2 separate regions of the Homo sapiens genome follow, and region 2 is linked to region 1. Evidence: promoter capture Hi-C in 16 types of primary human blood cells and fetal thymus (Javierre and others, 2016). All regions are on one chromosome and are shown on one strand. The core of a region is centred on a gene start or on the middle of the fragment in contact, and the rest is flanking DNA. Distances in the headings are between cores, read along the strand shown. Region 1 holds the start of HNRNPM (heterogeneous nuclear ribonucleoprotein M). Region 2 holds the start of ACTL9 (actin like 9).

Region 1 (6,042 bases), core at 2,271-4,770:
CTTTTCTTTCTTTCTTTCGACGGAGTCTCGCCCTGTTGCCCAGGCTAGAGCGCAGTGGCACTATCTCTGCTCACTGCAACCTCCACCTCCCGAGTTCAAGCAATTATCCTGTCTCAGCCTCCTGAGTAGCTGGGACTACAGGCGCCAACCATCATGCCTGGCTAATTTCTGTATTTTTAGTACAGATGGGGTTTCGCCATATTGGCCAGGCTGGTATTGAACTCCTGACCTCAAATGATCCACCTGACTCGGCCTCTCAAACTGCTAGGATTACAGGCGTGAGCCACCGTGCCCAGCCTGGTGCATTGCATTTCTTATTATCCATATTTTCAGTTAAGCAAACTGAGCCTCAGAGTGGAGGAGCTGATTGCTCAAGGTCTGTTTTCCATATGAATCCCTGCCTGGTATGTAGCTCACTCACAAAGGAAGAAAAACTTTCTGCCTGGACTGGAAGGGCAAGGAGAAGCCTGTGTGGCCATGGGAGTGGAGGAAACAGCTAAGCACAAAGGCCCAGAGGCTGGAAACTGCTTAGCCTGTAGGAAGAGCAGCAGGGAGGAACCCCAGGGCTGGAGCAGTGTGATTGAGGGGCAGGTGGCTGGAGAGATGGGCAGGGCCTCCTAGGCATGGGGTGACTGACGCACCAGTGGTCTGCAAAAACGGAGCATCACACCAGTGCGCATGAGCTCTCCTGCCCCTTGGGGGGGCCTTCCTTGCTCCTGCAGCTGAACTCCCTACACAGCCTGACACCCATCTTTCCTCAGGCCAACTTTGGCCTGTGGTGCCCCAGGAGTTGATGTACAGATGCCTCAGGACATGCCATGAGGAAGAGAGAGACGAGATGGGGTGACTCATGCCTGAAATCCCAGCACTTTAGGAGGCCAAGGCAGGAGGATTGCTTGAAGGCTGGGAGTTAGAGACCAGCCTGGCCAACATAGCAAGACCCTGTCTCTACAAAAAGAGAAAGAAACAGAGAGAGAGAGAAGGAAAAGTGTTTTCTTTGCAAATCTATTCTAATACTTTCATAGAGAAGAGTTTTAGTTTGGTGTTAACCTGTCTTTAATAATCCTCTAAGGACCAGCACAGTGGCTCACGCTTATAATCCCAGCACTGTGGGAGGCCAAGGCTGTAGGATCCCTTGAGCTCAGGAGTTCGAGACCATCCTGGGAAAAACGGCAAGACCCTATCTGTACCAAAAAATAAAAATAAAAAATTAGCCAAGTGCAGCGGCGTGCACCTACAGTCCCAGCTACTTGACAGGCTAAGCAGGGGAGGATCGCTTGAGTTCAGGAGTTCAAGGTTGCAGTGAGCTATCATTTACAAAGGTAGATTGAAATATTATTGATAGGCTGGGCACGGTGACTCACACCTGTAATCCCAGCACTTTGGGAGGCTGAGGTGGGCAGATCACCTGAGGTCAGGAGTTTGAGACTAGTTTGGCCAGCATGGCAAAACCCCATCTCTACTAAAAAATACAAAACTTAGCCAGGCGTCGTGGTGTGCACCTGTAATCCCAGATACTTGGAAAGCTGATGCAGAAGAATCGCTTGAAATCAGGAGGCGGAGGTTGCAGTGAGCTGAGATGGTGCCACTGCACTCCAGCCTCTGTGACAGAGCAAGACTGTCTCCAAAAAAAGAAAAAAATATATTATTGATAATCGCTGCATTGAAGGCCAGGCGCAGTGGTTTACGCCTACAATCGCAGCACTTTGGGAGCCTGAGGCAGGCGGATCACGAGGTCAGGAGTTCGAGACCAGCCTGACCAATATGATGAAACCTTGTCTCTACTAAAAATACAAAAGTTAGCCGGGCGTGGTGGCATGCACCTGTAATCCCAGCTACTCGGGAGGCTGAGACAGGAGAATCGCTTGAACCCAGGAGGCGGAGGTTGCAGCGAGCCGAGATGGCGCCATTGCACTCCAGTCTGGGCAACAAGAGCGAAACTCCGTCTCAAAAAGATAATCGCTGCATCTTACTGCCCAAGTTGCCACAAGCACACGTAACATCTGATGGTGCCAATTCGACTGTCTGCACTTGGAAAATGGCACATTGGAGGCTGCACAGCACCATAAAACTGATGCCACGAATGCACACAAAAATAAGACCATACAGCATTATGCCTAGTACAGAATACACCCTGAATTCTGTCACAGTTCACTTTATGCAACATTGCAAGAGTCCTCTCGCTCTTTATTATTATTTTTAATTTTTTTGAGATGGGGTCTCACTCTGTGACCAGGCTGGAGTGCAGTGGCCCGATCTTGGCTCACTGCAACCTCCTCCTCCTGGGTTGAAGCGATTCTCCTGCCTCAGGCTCCCCAGTAGCTGGGATTATGGGCGCCTGCCACCACACCCGGCTAATTTTTGTATTTTTAGTAGAGACAGGGTTTCATCATGTTGGCCAGGATGGTCTGATCTCTTGACCTCGTGATCCACCCGCCTTGGCCTCTCAAAGTGGTAGGATTACAGGCGTGAGCTGCCGCGCCCAGCCATTAATTTTTTTTTTAATTTTGTTTTTAACTTTTAGGTTTGGGGGTAAATGTGAAGGTTTGTTAAATAGGTAAACACTTGTCATGGAGGTTTGTTGTACAGATTATTTCATCACCCAGGTATTAAGCCCAGTACTCAATACTTATCTTTTTGTTTTTTGAGATGGAGTCTCAGTCTATCTCCCAGGCTGCGGTGCAGTGGCGTGATCTCGGCTCACTGCAACCTCCGGCTCCTGGGTTCAAGCGATTCTCCTGCTTCAGCCTCCCGAGTAGCTGGGATTACAGGCGCCCGCCACCACGTCCAGCTAATTTTTTTATTTTTAGTAGAGACGCGGTTTCACCATGTTGGCCAGTCTGGTCTCGAACTCCTGACCTCAGGTGATCCGCCGCCTCGGCCTCCCATACCCAAAGTGCTGGGATTACAGGAGTGAGCCATCGCGCCTGGCCCCATTATTAGTGAATTTTAACAGTTTTCCGTTTCTTCTGGACGAACTGTTTGCAATTATAATGCGAATTACGGATAATACTCTGATATTATTCCATGCCGTTCCGTTGTTGCCTACAAAGTTCGCGCTGGAGAACCGCGCAATTGCGTTACAAAAAGAAAAAAATCACACAAAAAGACACAATGTTTTAAGAAAGTTTACGAATCGTGTGCCGGACCGCGGGTTGAACAAGCTTCATCTAAAACTTCCAGGAATCTCTAGACAGGATCATTGCTTCCCCTCTGCTCCAGCTCTGGTTACAGAAAGCTGAGAGTGACTAGGTCTAGGTGTTTGTGTGGGGTGGGGTGGGGAGATGCCTCCTCTATCGGACTCAGAGGACGCGCGCCGGGAACAGCCAGTCGGTGCCTAACGCGAGTGTATCTCGAGAGAGAAGCGATCAACAGCTGCCGGTCTGCGCCTGCGCGCGGCGGGGGCGTGGCCCGGGGCGAGTGGGGCCAAGGAGGCAGCCGGGAGCGGCGGGCGCAGGTGTTACTGGTTGCGTCGGGTCACGTGGGCGCGCAGGCGCAGCGCGGTGCAGCCCGTTCGCTCACACAAAGCCCAGACGCGGAGAAAATGGCGGCAGGGGTCGAAGCGGCGGCGGAGGTGGCGGCGACGGAGATCAAAATGGAGGAAGAGAGCGGCGCGCCCGGCGTGCCGAGCGGCAACGGGGCTCCGGGCCCTAAGGGGTGAGTATCCCACGGTCCTTTGCCACGGGTAAGGGTTCCTCTCCGCGGCCGACGCGGGCGGCGGCTCCGTTAGGTCTGTTGGCGGCCTAGCCCCGGCGCGGCCTCGGCCCCGGCTGTTCCCGTACCGCCTGCTCAGGGTAGCGGCGTCTAGGGCCGTGAGCGGGGAGCCGGGGGAGCCTCCAGAATCGTCCCCTACACCGGGCCTCGAGCCTCGCCACCCTCAGTCCCTCCAGGCCGGGGCCAACCCCGTAGTCGAGGCCTCAGGCCCAGCTGCTGCGCATGGGGGTTGATGGCGCGGGCCCGGACCGGAGAGCCTCCGAGGCCTACCCGACCGCTCCCCGGGAGGGTGACCTCGGGGGCCGGGTTTCAGCCCCCCGTCCCCTCTCCTCCCGGGGTCTGTTTTCTGATCCGTAACGTGGGGGGAGGAGAGAGGGTGCGCGCCCGGGAGGCCTCGCGCGCAGTCAGCCCGAGTCAACGGTAACCGAGCGAGGGAAGCGTCAGGAAGGGCCGCGAAGCCGGGTCGGGGGGCTCCCCTCCTGCCCCGCCCCTTAGTCCCCGCGCGCCGACCGCGCTCCGCGGGAAGTGCCTCCCTCGGAACCGCCCCTCGCCCCACGCTCTGGCCCTGGCTCAAGTCCCTCGCCGTTTCCCGCTCCTCCTCCCCGGGTGCGCCGCAGGTATTAGTGGAGAGATGGGATCTGCTGCTTAGCGTTCACCCTCGGAAGCAGACAGATACGAAGTCGGGGGAGGAATCCCCTTTTTCCCGTGTTTCGGGGAAGCTGTTCTGTCAGGAGGCGGGTTCATTTACTTCCAGACTTCATCAGCTTTTCGAGTCCTGCTTGGGGCTCTTTGACTCCTTGGCTTTTAAAAGTTTCTTTAAAGGAGGAAGCATCGACTTGTGCCCCGGTGAAACTCATTCATTCTGATTACAGACACTTAAGAGAGACAGAGAGGTTTTGGCTCCAAGATCAGCGGCCGGGAAGGAAGGGGAAGCCTGGGTACACATTGAATTTCCCAGACATTTATTTCATTGTGGTAAAATAGACATAACGTAGACTTTGCCATTTTAACCATTTTTTAAGCGTATAATTCAGTGGCATTGAGTATACTGACTCAGTGTGCTGTAACCGTCACTGCTTCATGTCCAGAACTTTTTCATCATCGGAAACAGAAAGTGTAGCTATTAAATACTAACTCCCTCCGTTTTCTTTCCTTTCTGTCTGTGACTTTGCCTTCCTCATATTGTAATGTGTGAAGCTTAGTTTATGGAGATTAAAAGTGAATGCGGTTGAGCACTTATATATTTAATTTTTTTCTTTGAGACAGGGTCTCCCTCTGTTACCCAAGCTGGGATGCAGTGGCACGATCACAGATCACTGCAGCCTCGAACTCCTGGGCTCAATCGATCCTTCCATCTCAGCCTCCTGAGTAGCTGGGATCACAGGCGCGGCACCACCATGCCCGGCTAATTTTTTGAAGAGAGGAGGTCTCCGGGTGTTGCCCAGGCTGGTCTGAAACTCCTGGGTTCAAGCCATCCTCCTGCCTAGGCCTTCCAAAGTGCTGAAGTTACAGGCATGAGCTACTGCGCCCTGCCTAGTTGAGCGCTTAGGTTAAGAACGTTCCCTAAGTGCTAGCTATATTGGTAGATAATAAATCCGGAGAAAATTCCAGATTCTTTCCCTCCTTAAGTAGGGAGAAATAAAATACCATGGTTACTGGCCCTTAGAAATGAGAAAAACTTCCTCTATTCCCAGCATTTTACTATTGAAAACTCTGGGAAGGAATGTGTTAATTTTGACTTTTTCAGCGTCTATCTACGGAAGCTGGTAGGATTTCTGAGGGTGGTATTTGGAGGGCTTTAAGATAAATTTATTTACCGTATGCAGGAAGGAGTGCTGGTAGAACCTTGCTAGATGATAGGGTAAATTAATAGATTACAAATTTTCCCTTTTCCCCTGTCCATTTTCAAATAGTCATTTTGTGACTGAGTCATTTTACAAATACATGTGGACTGTTGGAACCTGAAAATTGTAGAATAAAATAGCCGTTGTGAGAAAGAGGCTCAAAGTCTCAAAGTCTAGTACTAGCTTCATAGAGGATAGTTTAGGAAGCTGGCAACACTTGGATATTTTTGATAGGGCCTGTGGAAAACTTTTTTTTTTTTTTTTCATTACAAGTCTTAAGGAAATCTCTTTAGAAGCCTATACTTTTGCACTCCATGCAGAGTGGAGAGGCCATTAACATATTTGTATGTTATGTATGTTATGTAATTACCATAACATAAGGTAATTATGCTGTGATAGAAGTTAGTGGAGTTGCTTGGTAGAAAGAATGGAGGAGGTGACCTCCGCCACCTGCTGGGGGCAGGGACCTGTTCCTCCATGACAG
Region 2 (6,033 bases), core at 1,440-3,939, 250 kb after region 1:
TCATGGGGACCTGAGCATGACATTTGGGAGGCTGGCTCTTTCCTGGGAGGAGCTGGGGGCTGAGGAAGAGGGTCAGGAAGTGTCCTGTGAGAGAGAACATTTGGGAGTATTTCGGGCGGAGACACAGTGCAAGAAAGTGGTCTTAGAGCAACAGGGGTCCACCCTGGGGTTTCGGGGGTGGATCTCAGAATGATGTGTTTTGGGAAGATGGATGGGGGATGGGTGATGGGACCACCTGGTCAGTGGAGGTGGGGCCAGGGGAGGTCTGGGGGAAAAATCCTGAGGGGAGGGGAGAGTTCTGCAGGGATGATGGATGCCAGGGGCATCCCATGGTGGGACCATTGTAGGAGAAACCCTTGAAAGTCAGAATTCAGGTCTCTGTGATGGATCTGGGGGGTCAGCACTTGTGGGGGGCATCCTAGGGGAAACCAATGAAGAGGTGGATTTGGGGTGCTGAGAACCAGGGGTATCTTGACAAGTGGAATCTTGACAAGTGGAATTTAAGAGTGTGTTTGGGGGGATTAGAAATAAGGGGAAGATTATGGGGGTGCACCCAGGGGTTGGAGCACTCACGGGAAGATTCTGGGAGGAGGTTGGAGCATTCCGGGGTAGAGACTGGGTTGGGGGGTCCCTGAGGAGCATACTAAGGGGGGTGGCAGTTTGGAGGGTTTGGAGCCCAGGGGTATTTTGGGATGCTATATCAAAAGCAATAGATAATGGGGTGAGATTAGGGAGTCAGTATTTGAGGATGTCTTGGGCACATAGTGGGTAATTAATGAATGTATGTGGGATCAATGCATGAATCACTTAAACTAGAAATGGAAGGAATTGGGTATGTGGCTTGGGTATGTGGCAGACCCTAGGGGTGTGTGTGGGCATGGGGTGGGTGGTCAGAGGCTTTCATGTTCTTCATGTTTGGGGTTGGGGGCAGGTGCCAGGTGGAGGCTTATCTATGACTCATAGGAGGAGGTGATATTTCTAACAATAGCCTTGAGGTAGTGAACTCCCCATCTCTGGGAGTGTGTAAATGGGAAGGGCACTTGTCAGAGGTGGTCTGGGGAGGGGGTGTCCCAACCCAAGGGTGCCTGGGGAGGGGCACAGATCACAGGAGGATGGGTTGACAGGATTAGAACTTAGTGGTCTGTTGGGAGTTATTCATGGGGAAGGTGGGTTTAGGGGGTCAGGATTGGGGTGTCTCAGGGCATGCATCACAGGAGGTGAGTTAGGTCAGCCTGTGGGGCGAGGTGCCCAGGAGTGGATGGGGCAGGCCCTGGAGGAAGGACAGGACAGAGCCGGCTGTAGCAGAGGCTTTACTGCCCCCACGCCCTCCCCAGCTCTGCCCTGGTCAGTAGCATTTGCGGTACACGATATAGGGACCCTGTTCCTCGTACTGCTCCCGCAGGACCCAGCAGGACTGGAAGGCGCGCAGGGAGGCCAGGATGGAGCCCCCGATCCATACGGAGAAATTCCTGGTGGGCTGGGCAGCCACCACCACGTGGGTCTCGGCTGGCAGAGCGCGCAGCAGCTCTGCCCGGAAGCGACCCTCGAAGCCGGTGAAGAGCGAGGACCCACCGCAGAGAAGCACGTTTTGGGCCAAGTCCGCGCGCATCTCCAGTGACAACTTGCGGAGACTCTGCTTGGCCATGGTGGAGAGGCCGACGGGTGACAGCCCCGGGACCTCTGGGGGGTTGAACAGCAGCTCCGGACACTGGAACAGCTCCTTGCCCAGGGTGACCGTGCGCCCATCGGGCAGCTTCAGAGTCCGCTTGTACTCCTGCTCCGGCCGGGCCTGCTCCTTCTGGAAGTCGGAGGCCACGTAGCAATAGTGGTGCTTAATGTTCTCCACTAGGTCCAGGTCCTGCTGTCCCAGGGGCAGGCCGGCCTGGAGCAGCATCTCCGCCAGGAAGGCGGTCAGGTTGTTGCCCGCCAGGTCCAGACGCTCCGTGGCGTGGAGCAGGTTGTAGCCCTGGAAGACGGGCACTGTGTAGGTGACCCCGTGTCCCGTGTCCACCACCAGCCCGCTGACACGACCGTGGGCGTAGACAGACAGCACCGACTGCGATGCCACGTACATGGCTGGGGAGCGCAGCGACTCGAAGGCCACCTCCACTAGCTTCTCGCGGTTGGTGGCCGGGCTGAAGGGTGGGTCGGAGAACAGCAGCGGGTGGTCGTGGGTGGCCACTCGGAGGTCGTGCTCCAGCAGGTGGCGCCAGATGAGCTCGGCGGCATCCCAGTCCACGACGATGCCGCTGCGCAGGGGTTGCACCAGCGTCAGCTCTGGGAGCACGCGGGCTGCCTCGCCGATGAACGTCTGCAGCCCGGACTGCCCCGAGGTGGCGGGTTTCTTGGGCTGGCAGCCCAGGATGGTGGCCACGGTGTAGGTGGGGCTGGCCTGCCCAGCAAAACCTACCTTACAGGTGCCTGTGCCCATGTCAATAACCACCGCGCCGGTCTTTGGTGGCAGCCTGTCGGCCACCATGCCGGGGGAGTCCCGCTGCAGGGGCTTGTTCACCACGTTGGGACTGGGGTTTGGGCCGGGCCTGGGGGCCTCCAGGGAGGACTGGGATTCCGAGGACTTGGGGCGACTTGCATCCATGGTTGCGGGACGCCAGGTGAGGGGGCTTTTCCTCTGGGGTTGGGGTTGCGGGGAGAAGAGGTTGAGGCCCGGCCAGTGGGGAGGGCAGGCAGACAGGGGGAGGGGTGGGCCCGCAATCTATGACGTCACGGTGCCCCTTCAGTCTTCTTAAGACATCACAATGCAGCCAAGAGGATGGGTCCCTGCCCAGCCCTGCCTGCCCAAAGGCTGTCATCTCTTCTCTGAAGAGCCAAATTTGGAGGAGGAGATGAGCATCTCAGAGCAGGGCCCTCTTAACACATTTCTGTCGGATGCGCTAGAAGCTAATACGATGGCACCTGGTTTTTGAGAAAAGACAAGCTTTTTGTTGCATGTCAACCCACTGGGAGCTAGGAATCCAGCACAAGTCTGTTTCTCAGCTGGCTTTAAGGCAGTAATTTTATTAGAAAAGTTCTGGGGCCGGGGGCTGTGGCTCACACCTGTAATCCCAGCACTTTGGGAGACCGAGGTGGGAGATCACCTGAGGTCAGGAGTTCGAGACCAGCCTGGCCAACATGGTGAAACCCGTCTCTACCAAAAAATACAAAAATTAGCCTGGCATGGTGGCGCATGCCTGTGGTCCCAGCTACTGGGGAGGCTGAGGCAGGAGAATCACTTGAACCCAGGAGGTGGAGGTTGAAGTGAACCAAGATCATGCCACCGCACTCCAGGCTGGGGGATGGAGTGAGACTCTGTCTCAAAAGAAAAAGAAAATAAAAGAAAAAAAATTAGCCAGGCATGGTGGCACATGCCTGTAGTCCCAGCTACTAGGGAGGCTGAGGCAGGAGAATCTCTTGAACCCGGGAGGTGGAGGTTGCAGCGAGCCAAGATCATGCTACTGCACTCCAGCCTGTATGACAGAGCGAGACTCATCTCAAAACAAACAAACAAACAAACAAAGAAACAAACAAAAAACCCTCATAAGTGGAAGGCATTTCAGCAAGTTGTTTCTTTTTTGATCTGCCATTCTGCAAGCTCAAACATTTCTTTGGGGCATGGTTTCACTAAAAACATGCAAAATTGGTTTCTCTAACTCTTTGGGCCACGCTTTCAGGAAGACCCAGGAATCCTCCTCTGGGTACCTCGCCATGAAGCTATTTACAGCCTAGTGGCAGAGAGCTTGCCACAGGCCTCCCTAGAATATTAGAATATTCCTCCTCAGAATATTAATTAGAAGGTGGGGCGGGCTAGCATGGCTTCCTGGTTTCCAAATGGAGACAGAGGCCAGCCTTGGTTGGGGATGGAGAGAGGCAGGGAGAGACAGGAACACCCCTGTCCTAGATTCTTTGCTTCCTCTGCTATATTCACTGCCTGAATCATTCTCCCTGTCCCATTCCTGCCAAGAAGGAATTTGCCTCTTCAAATCTCAGTCTGATGCCACCTCCTCCTGGAAGCCAACCCTGATTTCTACTCTGTACTCCAACTAGATGAGGGATGGGGGAAGTCTGCCTTCTCTCCAGGGGTTGTTACCTGCTTCCTCCTGGCAGGAGAGGGGCTCAGTGAGATACAAGAAGGGGTTTCAGTATAGATAAAAGGGGAGAGGGTGCATTTGGGAGGAAGGAATTATCTCAACAATAAATAGCAGGCTTCAAAATGCATTAGGAGAGTTGCTTCAAGACCATGGCTGTTTTTGGTGATATCAGATATCACCTGTTAGTTAAAGCAAATAAAAACGTTTTTCTTAGTGTATGTTCATGCATGTGGTGGTAGAAATCACCAGGAATAGTGCTAGTGAATGTCTTATGGGATATCTAAATGAAAGAGGTTTAATTTTCTAGTTGTGTCTAGATTTATTACTCTGCCAGAGTGTGGTTTATTGAGCATTTTAATTAATTATTGATTTACTGGTATGTGTGGTCTAATCCATGCTTTTGGAAATATTTACTCAGCAATTTATTGAGGGTCTGTTTTTTGGACTGTTCACAACAACCAGAAATACACTAAGTGATAACACTTTATTGTTTTCAATTTTTTTTTGAGACTGGGTCTTGCTATATTGTCCAGGCTGGAGTGTAGTGGTGCAATCACTGCTCACTGCAGCCTCCTTAACCTCGTGGTCTCAAGCAATCCTCCCACTTCAGCCTCCAAAGTAGCTGGGACTATAGGCATGTGCTACTATCTCCGGATAAGTTTTTAATTTTTTGTAGAAATGGGGTCTTGCTATGTTGCCCAGGCTGATCTTGAGCTCCTGGGCTCAAGTGATCCTCCTGTCTTAACCTCCCAAAGTGCTGGGATGACAGGGATTAGCCACCATGCCTGGCCTTTCTTCATTTTCTGATTTTAAAACATGGCAACTTCTTATGGCAACTTTATGACTTAGGAATGGGTACTATGTCTATTTTTTTGATGGAAAAGAAGCTCAGAGAGGTCAAGTGATTGTTCAAAGTCACAACTGGTATGAGACAGAGGCAGGAGTTGAGCCTACATCTTTGACTTACTTCAGTGGCTGACTGTGAGTCTGGGAAATTGTGAAATCTAAGATCCACCCAAAACAGCCAGGCATGGTGGCTCACATCTGTAGTCCGAGATACTAGGGATGCTGAGGTGGGAGGATCACCTGAGCCCAGGAGTTGGAGGCTGCAGTGAGCCAAGATCACACCACTGCACCCAGCCTGGGTGACAGAGCGAGACCCTGTCTCAAGGAACAAACAAACAAACAAACATACAAACAAACAAGAAAAACCCACTAAAAATAGAACAGAAACAAAGGTTGGGACTCTGTGAGCCTCCATTTCCTCTCTTCTTGGATAAAATGAGGATACCTTGTCTGGCACTTAATAGATGCTAGCTTCTGAGATACTGAAGCAACAATATAGGAAAATATCGTGATTATAGGCAACAAAGCCATGATGTGCCTAAGGCCACAGATCCGGGGCCAGGCTTCTGGAATTTAAGCCCTGACTCCTCTGCTTAATAGCTGAGGCAAACTACTAACTGTGACTCAGTATCCCCATTTGCAAAATGGGAGTAATAATAGTGCCACCTTCAAAGTGCAGCTATGAGGATGGGCAAGTTATTGTTTTCTAGTGTTTAGGTCAGTGGTTCACACATAGTAAGTGCTATGTGAGGGTTTGTTACATCAATGATAAGTACTGGCTGGACGCGGTGGCTCACGCCTGTAATCCCAGCACTTTGGGAGGCTGTGGTGGGTGGATCACCTGGAGGTCAGGAGTTGGAGATCAGTCTGACCAACATGGAGAAACCCCGTCTCTACTAAAAACACAAAAATTAGCTGGGCGTGGTGGCACATGCCTGTAATCCCGGCTACTCGGGAGGCTGAGGCAGGATAATTGCTTGAACCCGGGAGGCGGAGGTTGCAGTGAGCTGAGATCGCGCCACTGCACTCCAGCCTGGGCGACAGAGCGAGATTCTGTCTCAAAAAAAAAAAAACAAAAAACCAAAAAAACTTCCTAGGTCAG

What was found. Contacts are between HindIII fragments. The CHiCAGO score rates a contact against its expected background, and 5 or more counts as called.
Region 2: a contact is called between the fragment with the promoter of ACTL9 here and the fragment with the promoter of HNRNPM in region 1, in 10 of 17 cell types (naive CD8 T cells, naive CD4 T cells, M2 macrophages and 7 more). The highest score is 12.8, in naive CD8 T cells.

The regions. Positions count from the first base shown.
Region 1 is chr19:8,441,455-8,447,496 of GRCh38, forward strand. HNRNPM (heterogeneous nuclear ribonucleoprotein M) reads left to right here and starts at 3,521. Exons shown (of 16, transcript NM_005968.5): 1 at 3,521-3,657. The coding sequence starts at 3,545. RefSeq lists silencers at 411-705, 3,280-3,559, 3,800-4,029. The HindIII fragment of the contact is 1,747 bases long and covers 3,163-4,909 here.
Region 2 is chr19:8,696,106-8,702,138 of GRCh38, forward strand. It overlaps ACTL9 (actin like 9), which reads right to left and starts at 2,690. Exons shown (of 1, transcript NM_178525.5): 1 at 1,295-2,690. The coding sequence starts at 2,596. The coding sequence ends at 1,346. The HindIII fragment of the contact is 13,278 bases long and covers 1-2,933 here.